Linked DNA regions of Homo sapiens: regions 1, 2 and 3 are each linked to region 4. Evidence: promoter capture Hi-C in human tissues and cell types (Jung and others, 2019). All regions are on one chromosome and are shown on one strand. The core of a region is centred on a gene start or on the middle of the fragment in contact, and the rest is flanking DNA. Distances in the headings are between cores, read along the strand shown.

The links. Contacts are between HindIII fragments. The study calls those that stand out against the background at their distance.
Region 1: a contact is called between a fragment that was not itself captured here and the fragment with the promoter of MZT2A in region 4, in 2 of the 25 tissues and cell types used here (heart left ventricle and thymus).
Region 2: a fragment that was not itself captured here is called in contact with the fragment with the promoter of MZT2A in region 4 in 1 of the 25 tissues and cell types used here (thymus).
Region 3: a fragment that was not itself captured here is called in contact with the fragment with the promoter of MZT2A in region 4 in 1 of the 25 tissues and cell types used here (dorsolateral prefrontal cortex).

What each region holds. Positions count from the first base shown.
Region 1 is chr2:131,133,232-131,136,121 of GRCh38, reverse strand. The region is part of intron 6 of PLEKHB2 (pleckstrin homology domain containing B2); the gene reads right to left. Among named protein-coding and RNA genes, the nearest start is that of PLEKHB2, 29 kb to the right of the region's middle. The HindIII fragment of the contact is 8,401 bases long and covers 1-2,890 here.
Region 2 is chr2:131,081,375-131,084,159 of GRCh38, reverse strand. It overlaps FAM168B (family with sequence similarity 168 member B), which reads left to right. Exons shown (of 7, transcript NM_001009993.4): 2 at 1,503-1,583. The coding sequence starts at 1,514. Among named protein-coding and RNA genes, the nearest start is that of FAM168B, 11 kb to the left of the region's middle. The HindIII fragment of the contact is 4,151 bases long and covers 1-2,785 here.
Region 3 is chr2:131,109,740-131,112,662 of GRCh38, reverse strand. The region is part of intron 1 of PLEKHB2 (pleckstrin homology domain containing B2); the gene reads right to left. Among named protein-coding and RNA genes, the nearest start is that of PLEKHB2, 5.9 kb to the right of the region's middle. The HindIII fragment of the contact is 3,750 bases long and covers 1-2,923 here.
Region 4 is chr2:131,491,023-131,493,952 of GRCh38, reverse strand. It overlaps MZT2A (mitotic spindle organizing protein 2A), which reads left to right and starts at 1,556. Exons shown (of 3, transcript NM_001085365.2): 1 at 1,556-1,746; 2 at 1,929-2,077. The coding sequence starts at 1,577. It overlaps MIR4784 (microRNA 4784), which reads left to right and starts at 2,717; the gene lies at 2,717-2,793. It also overlaps the pseudogene SMPD4BP. RefSeq lists silencers at 616-805, 1,326-1,835 and enhancers at 638-1,431, 1,432-2,225. The HindIII fragment of the contact is 8,382 bases long and covers 1-2,930 here.

The DNA.
Region 1 (2,890 bases), core at 22-2,521, 360 kb after region 4:
CATGATAAACACTCCTGGAAACTAGAAAAAGGGAATTTCTAAACCTGATAAAGAATAAATATAAAAAACCTCCAGCTAACAGCATACTTAATGAATGCATTAAATACTAAATATATGCATATGTAAAACTAAATACTGAATTCAGTACTAATTAAATACTGAATTAAACAGTACATTCATAATAAATGAATGCATACTTAAAACTGAATACACTGGCCGGGCGCGGTGGCTCACGCCTGTATTCCTAGCACTCTGGTAGGCCAAGGTGGGTGGATCACAAGGTCAGGAGATCGAGACCATCCTGGCTAACATGGTGAAACCCCGTCTCTACTAAAAATAAAAAAAATAAAAAAATTAGCCGGGCATGGTGGCAGGTGCCTGTAGTCACAACTACTAGAGAGGCTGAGGCAGAATGGTGTGAACCCGGGAGGCGGAGCTTGCAGTGAGCCGAGATCTCGCCACTGCACTCCAGAGCCTGGGTGACAGAGCGAGACTCCATCTCAAAAAAAAACACTGAATACATCCCCCCTAAAATCAGGAACAAGGCAAGGATGTCTTCTCTCACTACTGCTATTCTACATAATATTTGAAGGTCTAACCAAGGCAACAAGGCAAGGTAAGGAAACAGAAGGCATAAAGGTTACAAAGAAAACAGATTCCTATTTGTAGATGACATGATTGCCTATGTAGTATATCCCAAAGAATCTACAGAAAAAGGAAATAGAGTAAGTGAGCTTAGAAAGTTTACAGGCGCCGACCAGGCACCATGGCTCATGCCTGTAATCCCAGCACTTTGAAGGCCAAGGCAGGTGGATCACCTGTGGTCAGGAGTTTGAAACTAGCCTGGCCATCATGGTGAAACCCCATCTCTACTAAAAATACAAAAAATTAGTGTGGTGGCACGTGCCTGTAATCCCGGCTACTCAGGAGGCTGAGGCAGGAGAATCGCTTGAACCCAGGAGGCGGAGGGTGCAGTCAGCCAAGATCGCGCCACTGCACTCCAGCCTGGGCAATAAGAGAGACACTCTGTCTCAAAAAAAAAAGAGAAAGTTTACAAGCTGCAAGATCAACCTACAAAAATCAATTCTATTTCTCTATACTGGCAGTAAACAAAGGAAACTAAAACTAAAAATGTAATACCATATGCAATCACTAAAAAAACTGAAACACTTATAAATCTAACAAAACATGTATGGGATTTTTATACTGAAAACCTCAAAATGCTGATGAAAAAAATCAAAGAGGATCTAAATACACATGCAGTCCATGTTTATAACTGGAAGATTCAACATTCAATAAAGATGTCATTACTCTCCAAATAAATATGACACAGGTTTAAGGCAATTCCTGCAAAAGCCTTGCAAGATTTCATTGTAGATATAAACAAATTTATTCTAATGTATATGGAAAGCTAATGGAACCAGAATAGCTAAAACATTTCCAAAAAGGAACAAAGAGGGTGTTGATCAGTCCACCCAGTTCCAAGACTTTTTATAATAGCTGCAATAATTAAGACTGTGTGGGATCAAAGGAAGGTAACAATACAGAACAATGGAGCAGACCACAGACCTCAGAAAGAGATACACTCAACAGAGCCCTGAAAAAGACATCTATCTTATAAAAAATTAATTCAAAATTAATACAGAATAATTATAAAACCTCACTATAAAACTTTCAGAAAATAATGTAGGAGAAAATCTTAGGAAACTTGGGCTAGGTTTGTCATGTTAAGTTTTAACCTGACAGCAAAAGCACAACCGAGAAAAGGAAAAGCCAATAAATCAGCTCATGCCTGTAATCCTAGCTCTTTGGGAAGCTGAGGCAGGAGAACCGCTTGAACCCGGGAGGTGGAGGTTGTGGTGAGCCGAGATCGTGCCACTGCACTCCAGTATAGGCAACAAAAGCGAAACTCCATCTCAAAAGGGCCGGGTGCAGTGGCTGACACCTGTAATCCCAGCACTTTGGGAGGCCGAGGTGGGCGGATCATGAGGTCAGGAGATTGAGACCATCCTGGCTAACACAGTGAAACCCCGTCTCTACTAAAAATACAAAAAATTAGCCGGGCGTGGTGGCGGGCGCCTGTAGTCCCAGCTACTCGGGAGGCTGAGGCAGGAGAATGCCGAGAACCCAGGAGGCGGAGCTTTTAGTGAGCCGAGATCGAGCCACTGCACTCCAGCCTGGGCGATAGAGCAAGACTCCATCCCAAAAAAAAAAAAAAAACCACTCAGCAATAAAAAGGATTATTGACAAAGAGCAACTTGGACAGATCTCAAGGGCAAATACTGAGTGAAAAACGTTAAACTCCCAAGACCACGTGCTATATGATTTCATTTATATGACATTGTTGAAATGATAAAACTATAGAGCTGGAGAACAGTTCAGTGATTGACAGGGTTTAGGGAAGCAGAGGGATGGCATGACTATTAAAGGGTGTCACAGCAGGAAGATTTTGTGAAGAATTCTTTATCTTGATTGAGGTGGTAGCTACACAATCTACACGTATGAGAAAATGACACAGGATTACTCTTAAATACCACACCAATTCCAAATTCCTGGGTTTAATTTGATCGAATATTAACAAATGGGGAAAACACATAAAAAGCACATGAGACTCTCAAAGCTATCTTTGCAACTTCTTGTGAATCTATAATTATTTCAAAATTCAATTTTTTTAAAAGCTGCGTGTTCCACACAACAGACTTACATACGTTCCACTAGCTCAGTCAGCACCCCAACAAGAGGACATCCCAATGTATTTGACATGATTTTTTAAGGTTATTTTCCCTAAAATATAGCATTTTTTTCTGACTATAAGGAGAATTCAAATAATTCATTCCATATAAACTACAGATCATCAAAATCTCATTACCCAAGGCAACTATCATTAACA
Region 2 (2,785 bases), core at 78-2,577, 410 kb after region 4:
GAGAGGCTGAGGTGGGCGGATCACGAGGTCAAGAGATGAGACCATCCTGGCCAACATGGTGAAACCCCGTCTCTACTAAAAATACAAAAATTAGCTGGGTGTGGTGGCGCACGCCTGTAGTCCCTGCTATGCGGGAGGCTGAGGCAGGAGAATCACTTAAACCTGGGAGGCAAAGTTGCAGTGAGCTGAGATCATGCCACTGCACTCCAGCCTAGCGACAGAGCGAGACTCCGTCTGGGAAAATAAATAAATAAATAAATAAATAAATAAATAAATAAATAAATACAGGAAATTGCAAAAGGACCACTAAATCCACTCCCATCTAGAGTCAATCACTGTTCATATTTTTATATATTTCTTTTCAGACTTTTTTTCTGTTTGTGCCAGGGATGCACATTTTTATACACATAGGTGTTTATATGGGATCATACTGTGTAATGCAGGATGCAGTATAATACTCTACTTTGTTTTCACTTAACATTGTATTATTCTGTTTTTAAACATTTCTTGAAAAGCAGCTGCGTGATATTTCATGTTCTGGATATGTCTTGGTTAACTTAACTATCCTCTGTTAGAAGAACATTTTGGTTACTTGTAGGGTTTTCCCCATGTTTTTTTTGCGACAAAGTCTCGCTCTGTTGTCCAGGTTGGAGTGCAATGGCATGAGCTTGGCTCACTGCTAATCTCCACCTCCTGGATTCAAGTGATTCTTGTGCCTCAGCCTCCCAAGTAGCTGGGATTACAGGTGTGCGTCACCACACTTGGCTAATTTTTGTTTGTTTTTGTTTTGTTTTGTTTTGTTTTTTTGAGACGGAGTCTCGCTCTGTCGCCAGGCTGGAGTGCAGTGGTGCAATATTGGCTCACTGCAACCTCCGACTACCTGGTTCAAGCGATTCTCCTGCCTTAGCGTTCTGAGTAGCTGGGATTACAGGCACGCGCCACCACACCCAGCTAATTTTTGTATTTTTAGTAGAGACGGAGTTTGACCATGTTGGCCAGGATGGTCTTGGTCTCCTGACCTCATGATTCCTCCACCTCAGCCTCCCGAAGTGCTAAGATTACAGGCACGAGCCACCATGCCTGGCCAATTTTTGTATTTTTAGTAGAGATGGGGTTTCACCATGTTGGCCAGGCTGGTCTCAAACTCCTGACCTCAGGTGATCTGCCCACCTCGGCCTCCCAAAGTGCTGGGATTACAGGAGTGCACCACCGTACCTGGCCTTTCCCCTTGCTTTTAGTGGACATATAGCTAACAATTTTTACTCCTTAGCTTCTGATGGACTGAGGAGAATTGTGAAAAAAAGTTTATCATGCCCTGGTTTGGCACCCATTAGGACATCGAGTGTCCCTTTTCTGTTCTTCGCTGGTTGGGGGCAGCATGAAATGCATTGTTTTATAGCAGCCTAGAGAAAGGACTCTAGCTACCTGCTTTTTGGGGACTGGTACTGGAGAAAAATCTGAGAGCAAAAGTGCTTGGCTAAATTCCCTTTTTTTTCTTTTAGTTTTTGAAATCATGAATCCTGTTTATAGTCCTGGATCTTCTGGGGTTCCCTATGCAAATGCCAAAGGAATTGGTTATCCAGGTAAGTAAGTAAAATTTTGTTTTCATTTTTGAACTTTGAATACTTGGTATATTTTCATGTCACTAAGAATGCTTTCTATTGACAAACGCAGCTCAAAGTGGCTTAGACAAGAAAGAAAATACCTGGAAGTGAAAAATCAAATGATAGGACTGGATTTGGTCAAAACTTGATCTAGTGGCTCCAGCAGTTGGGACCAGGATCTAGTTTCTCTACCTCCTGGTCTCAGCTTCGCTTCCTCAGTATTAACTTAGTGTTGGTCACAGGTCCCACTCCTTCTCATTGTGGTCTCTGAAGTTCAGGCCCCTCCCAGTAGTCCCTCACTAAGAGCCTCTTTACCTCCACTCTACAGGAAAGCCTGATGGGACTGCTTGTTCTCTATTCAAACCAGTCCTGGGCTTTGTTCTGATTAAACTCAGCATCCATCCCTGGGCCACAAAGGGGAGTCTGCTGATTGACTTAGGCCTGATCCACATCCCTTTAGTGGAGTCAGCTAGTCAAATATGGACTGCAAGTGAGGGTTGCAGCGAAATGGATATTGAGGGGATAGGAGCTGGTTGGTCAAAAATAGCAAATGGTTGTTCCCTTCGGTGACTTTGCACAAGGAGTAGTTATTTATAATGATACAGTTTCATTTTGGGTTTTGATAATATGGTAGAAGAGATAACCCCAAAACTTTGTTGCTAAGACTCTCAGAAAGTGAAATAAAACATTTTACAAATGTATAACTGAACTTGCAGGAGGTAAGAGAGATATCTGGGGTCAAATGTGAAGGCCATGTTAAACCCAGCTAACTTGGCCTTTGAACTAATGTCGTGCCTGTCCTGGGCACATGTGCTATTTGTGGGTTTTAACAACCCACATGGGGATAGAGATTGAGTATTAGGACCCTTGCGACAGGGAATGAGAGTGAGACTTCTTATCAGTCATTCTCGTCCCTCTGGAGGGTGATACTCTCAGCAAAGAGATAGACTAAACAGTCTAGTCGTCCAGTGGCCCCATAAGGAAGTTTATATGCTTGGGCTCTGAGAAGCGGGAGATCTTTACTAAGACTTTGTAAGCATTCAGAGATGTTTGGGGCTCTAGCTTGTATTATACTCCCCAGGGGTTCAGAAGTTGAGAAATTAACGTAAAAATAGTCTCCAGGCTTGGTTACTCCTGGGGCTCCTGACAGCAGCGAATGCAGAACTGCTGTGGGGGCATAT
Region 3 (2,923 bases), core at 323-2,822, 380 kb after region 4:
ATACAGCCAACCAATAGTTTATGTTCAACTTAGAAACTGCCCCTATTTTTGCCCTTTAAAATCCCACTTCTAACTGTTGCTACTCAAAGCATATATTCAGAGCAACTTGAATCTATGCTTCCCAGGTTGCTGTCCTCAAATCTGGCCTAAATAAACTCTCTATTTATAGTAATTTTTGCTTTAGTTTCTTTCTTTAGGTCTATTAGAATTCCCCCATCTCCCTGTGTTTGATTAATTTGCTAGAGCAGCTCACAAAATTCAGGTAAACAATGACTTATATTTACCAGTTTATTATAAAGGGTATTACAAAGGACACAGATGAAGAGATGTATAGGGCAAGGTGTTAGTGTTCAGGCCTCTCCAGGCACACCACCCTCCCTCCAGGAACCTCCAGGTGTTCGGCTATTCTGGAGGCTCCCCAAACCCAATCCTTTTGGGTTTTTATGGAGGCCTCATTACATTAGCATGATTGATTAAACCAACAGCCACTGGTGATCAACATCACCTTGAACCCCTCTCTCCTTCCTGGAAGGTTGGGGGGCAGACATGAAAGTTCCAACCCTCTAAAGTCGCATAGGTGTTTCAGATGACCAGCTCCCATCCTGAAGGGAGTCTGCAGGCCATCAATCAATCATTAGCATACAAAAAGACATCATTTTGGAGATTTTTAAGGATTGTATTAAATAGGAGTTGTAAGGCAGGAAATGAGGTCAAAGACAAAATAAACATTTCACAGTACCACAATCAGACACTGGAGAAAAATCTAGACCATAAAAGATAGAGATTAAAGAAAATAAAATTTTCAAGAAAAAAACCTCAAGAATCAGAGACAATGCTGGGTACAAAAGAAAACTTTAAAAATATTACTTTACAGCTGGCCACAGTGGCTCACGCCTATAATCCCAACACTTTAGGAGGCCGAGGAGAGTAGATCACTTGAGGTCAGGAGTTCGAGACCAGCCTGGCCAACATGGTGAAACCCCGTCTCTACTAAAAATACAAAAATTAGTTGGGCGTGGTGGCAGGCTCCTGTAGTCCCAGCTACTCAGGAGGCTGAGGCAGGAGAATGGCGTGAACCCGGGAGGCGGAGCTTGCAGTGAGCCGAGATAGTGCCACTGCACTCCAGCCTGGGTGACTGGAGTGAGACTCCATCTCAAAAAAAAAAAAAACAAGAATAAAAAGAAATATTCAGAGCTCTCAATTAAAAATAATAACCAAAATTAAAAATTCAATACAAGAGTTGGAAAGATCAAGATGGAAGAAATCTCTCTGAAATGAAGAGCTAAAAAAAAAAAAAAAAAAGACCAAGAGATGGAAAAAAATTAGAGGATGAGCCTGGAATATAAAATATTCTGCTGGCTGGGCACAGTGGCTCATACCTGTTAATCACAGCACTTTGGGAGGCTGAGGTGGGTAGATCACTTGGGGTCAGGAGTTCAAGACGAGCCTGGCCAGTATGGTGAAACCCCATCTCTACTAAAAATACAAAAATTAGCCAGGCATGGTGGCACGCACTTGTAGTCCCAGCTACTGAGCAGGCTGAGGCAGGAGAATCACTTGAACCCGGGAGACGGAGGTTGCAGTGAGCTGAGATCCCACCACTGCATTCCAGCCTGGGCATCACAGCGAGACTCCGTCTCAAAAAAAAAAATTCTGCTTATAGGAGAATTTCATAAATAAACCACAGAGAAAAGAGCAGAGAAATAATACTATAAAACCATTTCCTGCAACAGGATAACACATTTCTAGATTCAAAAGATCCAATGACTGTCCAGCATGATGAATTTTAAAAGATTCTCCATAGGTAGGATGACTGAAATTTCATAACATCAAGGACAAAGAAGAGAACCTAAAAACTTCCCAAAGAAAAAAGCATATATAAAGGATCAACAATCAGCAAGACACAGGACATCTAGAGCAATACCTTCAAAATGCTAACGGAAAATTATTTCCAAGCCAGAATTCCACACCCAGTCAAATCATTAATCAAGGCCAGGCATGGTGGCTCTTGAGCATAATCCCAACACTTTGGGAAGCCAAGGTGGGAGAATCGCTTCAGCCCAGGAGTTTGAGACCAACCCAGCAACACAGTGAGACATTCTCAACAAAAAAATAAGAAGTTAGCTGCACATAGTGGTGCACGCCTGTAGTCCCACCTACTCGGGAGACTGAGGTAGGAAGATCGCTTGAGCCCAGAAGGTAGAAGCACAGTAAGCCATGAATGATCATGTCACTGCACTCCAGCCTGGGCGACAGAGTAGGATTCGGTCTTCAACTGGCAGGGGAGGAAATTCCCAGAAAGGCAGCTGTGCAGAAGGACTGGGGAGGAAAAAAAAAAAAAAAAACAGTCCAGACTGGAGCAGGACCGAGTACTACAGGGGAGGAAAAAAAGTAACTGACAAATTTCCTACAAGTTTTTGACTCACTGGTGGATTGAAGAGTTTTACAAGGCAGCAAAAGTCTTCTATGATCAAAAGTCAAAAGATTACATGTAAATCAATAGCAATTTTACCATATCCACAAAGATAAAATACTATTTTTTTTTTTTGAGACGGAGTCTCACTCTGTCACCCAGGCTGGAGGGCAGTGGCGCGATCTCAGCTCTCTGCAACCTCCACCTCCCAGGTTCATGCCATTCTCCTGCCTCAGCCTCCCGAATAGCTGGGACTACAGGCAACCGCCACCACACCCAGGTAATTTTTTTGTATTTTTAGTAGAGACAGGGTTTCACCGTGTCAGCCAGGATGGTCTCGATCTCCTGACCTCATGATCCACTTGCCTTGGCATCCCAAAGTGCTGGAATTACAGGTGTGAGCCACCACACCCAGCCAAAATACTATTTTAAAAAGTGCCAAAAAAAGGTGAAAATAGTTGTCTATAGTTTAAAAAGGGGGTGGACAAGAGATTGATATATTTTTTTTTA
Region 4 (2,930 bases), core at 307-2,806:
GGGGAGAGCATCTCTGCTCAGTAAAAGCTTTCATGGGCAGCGACTGAAAGAATGAGGCCCAGAGGAATTTCTAGGAACTTTCCAAGAGAGGAAATTCAAACCCGAGAACTCCCAAGAGGTGTCTCCCACACCCCTGTTCTCTGACCCTGCCATGGCCACCCTCCCCCGTCACAGGTCTCTGCGTGCCATGCACCTAGAGTCCACTTCGTCGCGACTCTCCAACACCTATTTTCTCCAGGAGCTGCTTCGGACCCGTTTGTTTTTTTTGTTTCGTTTTGTTTTGTTTTTCTGACAGCGACAGCCCTTGGGCAACGCTAATCATTCCAAGCAAATTCTGTCATGCCAAGACCTCCCTTAACAGCACGCGCCCACTTGTTTCCAACTCTCCTGCGAATTGGGCTTCGGGAGCCTCCGAAACCAAGGCTCGGAGATGTGGAGCGCACAGGGGAAGGGTCGAGCTGGGACCCACACCCGGCTCTTCCTCCCACACCGCCTGTTGAGCCCAAGGCTCAATTTCAACACAAAGCTCTCCTTCCCTCAATTCCTTCAACGACGGGTAACCTTCAACGAACACCTACCGGACCAGAACAGAGTGTACGAGCGGCGCGGGAAGGTGGCACAAAGGCATGGCCCAGAGGAGTGGCAGGAAGACTCAGCCGGGGCCCTCCACTCCCCAGCCTGCCCGGCCTGGGCAGAGCCGCCGGGCCGCCCGAGTCCTGGGGCTCGCGGAGGAACGGAGATGGCCTCCGCAGGGGCTCGCGGAAGCCCCCAGGGCGTCGGACCGTCTCACGCGCGCGTCCCGCGCCACTCACCTGTGGGACCCATAGCGTCGCCCGCTTCAGAGGTGGAAGCCGCCATTCCGCCACCGCGCCAAAACGTCGTCATCAAGCTGCGCGCAGAGCCACGCCCCGCGGCCGGGCGGGAAAAGCGCTTCTACCTCTTTGGGCCGTTACCTCAAAAGGTACGTGCGCAAAGCGAAGAAGGCCGGCCGGCCGGCCAGGGAGGGGAAATGGCGAGGCAGGAGTGCGGGGGGAGGGAGTGGTCCTTAGCTGAATGCGCCTGCGTTGTGGCGGCCTCTGGCGCCCCAAGGTAGGGCTCACGCACTTTCTCCCTAGCAAGGAATGCGCGTGCGCGTAAGCAGGGTTGTTGATTAGTGCCCCCCACCCCCCCCGAAGAGCGACCCCTAGTGGTGCACCGGTGCGGACCAGAAAATTGCACGCTTTCTTGAAACAGGTATTGACTGAGCGCCCAATGTATGCCTGGCACTGGGCTGGGTGCTGCCACCTAAGCGAGCACGACCAATGCAAGTCTATCAGGGACGCCCTGACCGCCAAGCAGCTGGCCCCTGCAGTCCGCCATGCCACTCCCGACGCCTAGCGCGCCGCTCAGCACACCGTGAGCGCCCACTAACTGTTGGGCTCCAATGACGCCGAGGAGGCGGCCCCGTCCCCGCGCTCCCGCCGCTCCCGCCAGGGCAGCCCGGGAGGCCAGACGCTGGCGCTGCAGGGAGAGGGCGGTGGGCGCATCCGCTAGGGGGCGCGGCGGGGCGGGGCGCACCTTTCGGCGGGCCTCGCGGATGGCGGCGCAGGGCGTAGGGCCTGGGCCGGGGTCGGCGGCGCCCCCGGGGCTGGAGGCGGCCCGGCAGAAGCTGGCGCTGCGGCGCAAGAAGGTGCTGAGCACCGAGGAGATGGAGCTGTACGAGCTGGCTCAGGCGGCGGGCGGCGGTATCGACCCCGACGTGTTCAAGTGAGCGGGGCGGGTGGGGGCCGCATGCTCGCCAGACACCCCCGACCTCTGCTCTCCGGGTACGCCCGGCCCGCTGGTCGGGAGGAGCCCCCGCTGCCCCCGCCCCCGTCCTTGTCCGGTCTTCAGGGAGGTGGCCGCGCCGGGCGGAGAGGGCTCACCGGCCCCGCGTCTGTCCCCGCCAGGATCCTGGTGGACCTGCTGAAGCTGAACGTGGCCCCCCTCGCCGTCTTCCAGATGCTCAAGTCCATGTGTGCCGGGCAGAGGCTAGCGAGCGAGCCCCAGGACCCTGCGGCCGTGTCTCTGCCCACGTCGAGCGTGCCCGAGACCCGAGGTCAGAGCTGGGCCCGCTGTCCCTGCCCCAGTGGCGGGGGTGGCGGGCGGGGAGGGGGCAGGCGCGGCACAGCGGCGGCGTGGCCCTGAGTGGCCAGGCCTGTCTGTCGGTCGGTCTAGGCCCAGCACCTGCAGGGCCCATCCGTGGGCTCTGCTCCTGGGCTTCGCTGCCAGCCTTAGGAGGCACGTCCAGGTCAGGTGGACGCAGAGTGCGTGCCCCAGGGTGGTCCAGGCTGGGTAGGGCTCCTCCGCTTAGCTCCTCCCCACCTCTTCACTCAGGCCTTCATCCTACAAAGTCGGGAATCAAGACGGTTTGGGGCTGGGCGCCGTGGCTCACGCCTATAATCTTTGGGACCCCACGGCGGGAGGATCCTTTGAGGCCATGAGTTTGAGACCAGTCTGGGTGACAGGGTGAGATCCTGTCTCTAAATGTTTTTCAAAAGACAGTCTCGATCTCTGTCCTGTGGTATACAGCATCCAGGGAAGTGCCCAGGGAGCAGGGCAGGCAGACGTCTTCCTGCCTTTACCCCACCTGGGCCCAGTTCCTGCCTCTGATGATTGCAGGAAGAGAGTTAGACGCGGAACTCCCAGGGTGCAGAGGCCTGCGGGGTCTGAAGGGCCTCCTCCCTCTCCAGTGTGGTGACTGGGCTGAGGAGATGCTGGGACTGAGAGTGTCATGGTGGAGCCTCCGTCCCTGCTCATCCTCTCCGCATGTTGCTTCTGCTCCCGATGGCTCTCTCTGAAATGCAGCACAACCTCCCAGGCCAATGGAAGGAGGCCCAGAGCTGGCTCCCTGCCTGGAAGCAGGAGGAGACCCTCACAGGCATCATGAGAAGGCGTGGAAAGCAGGCTGC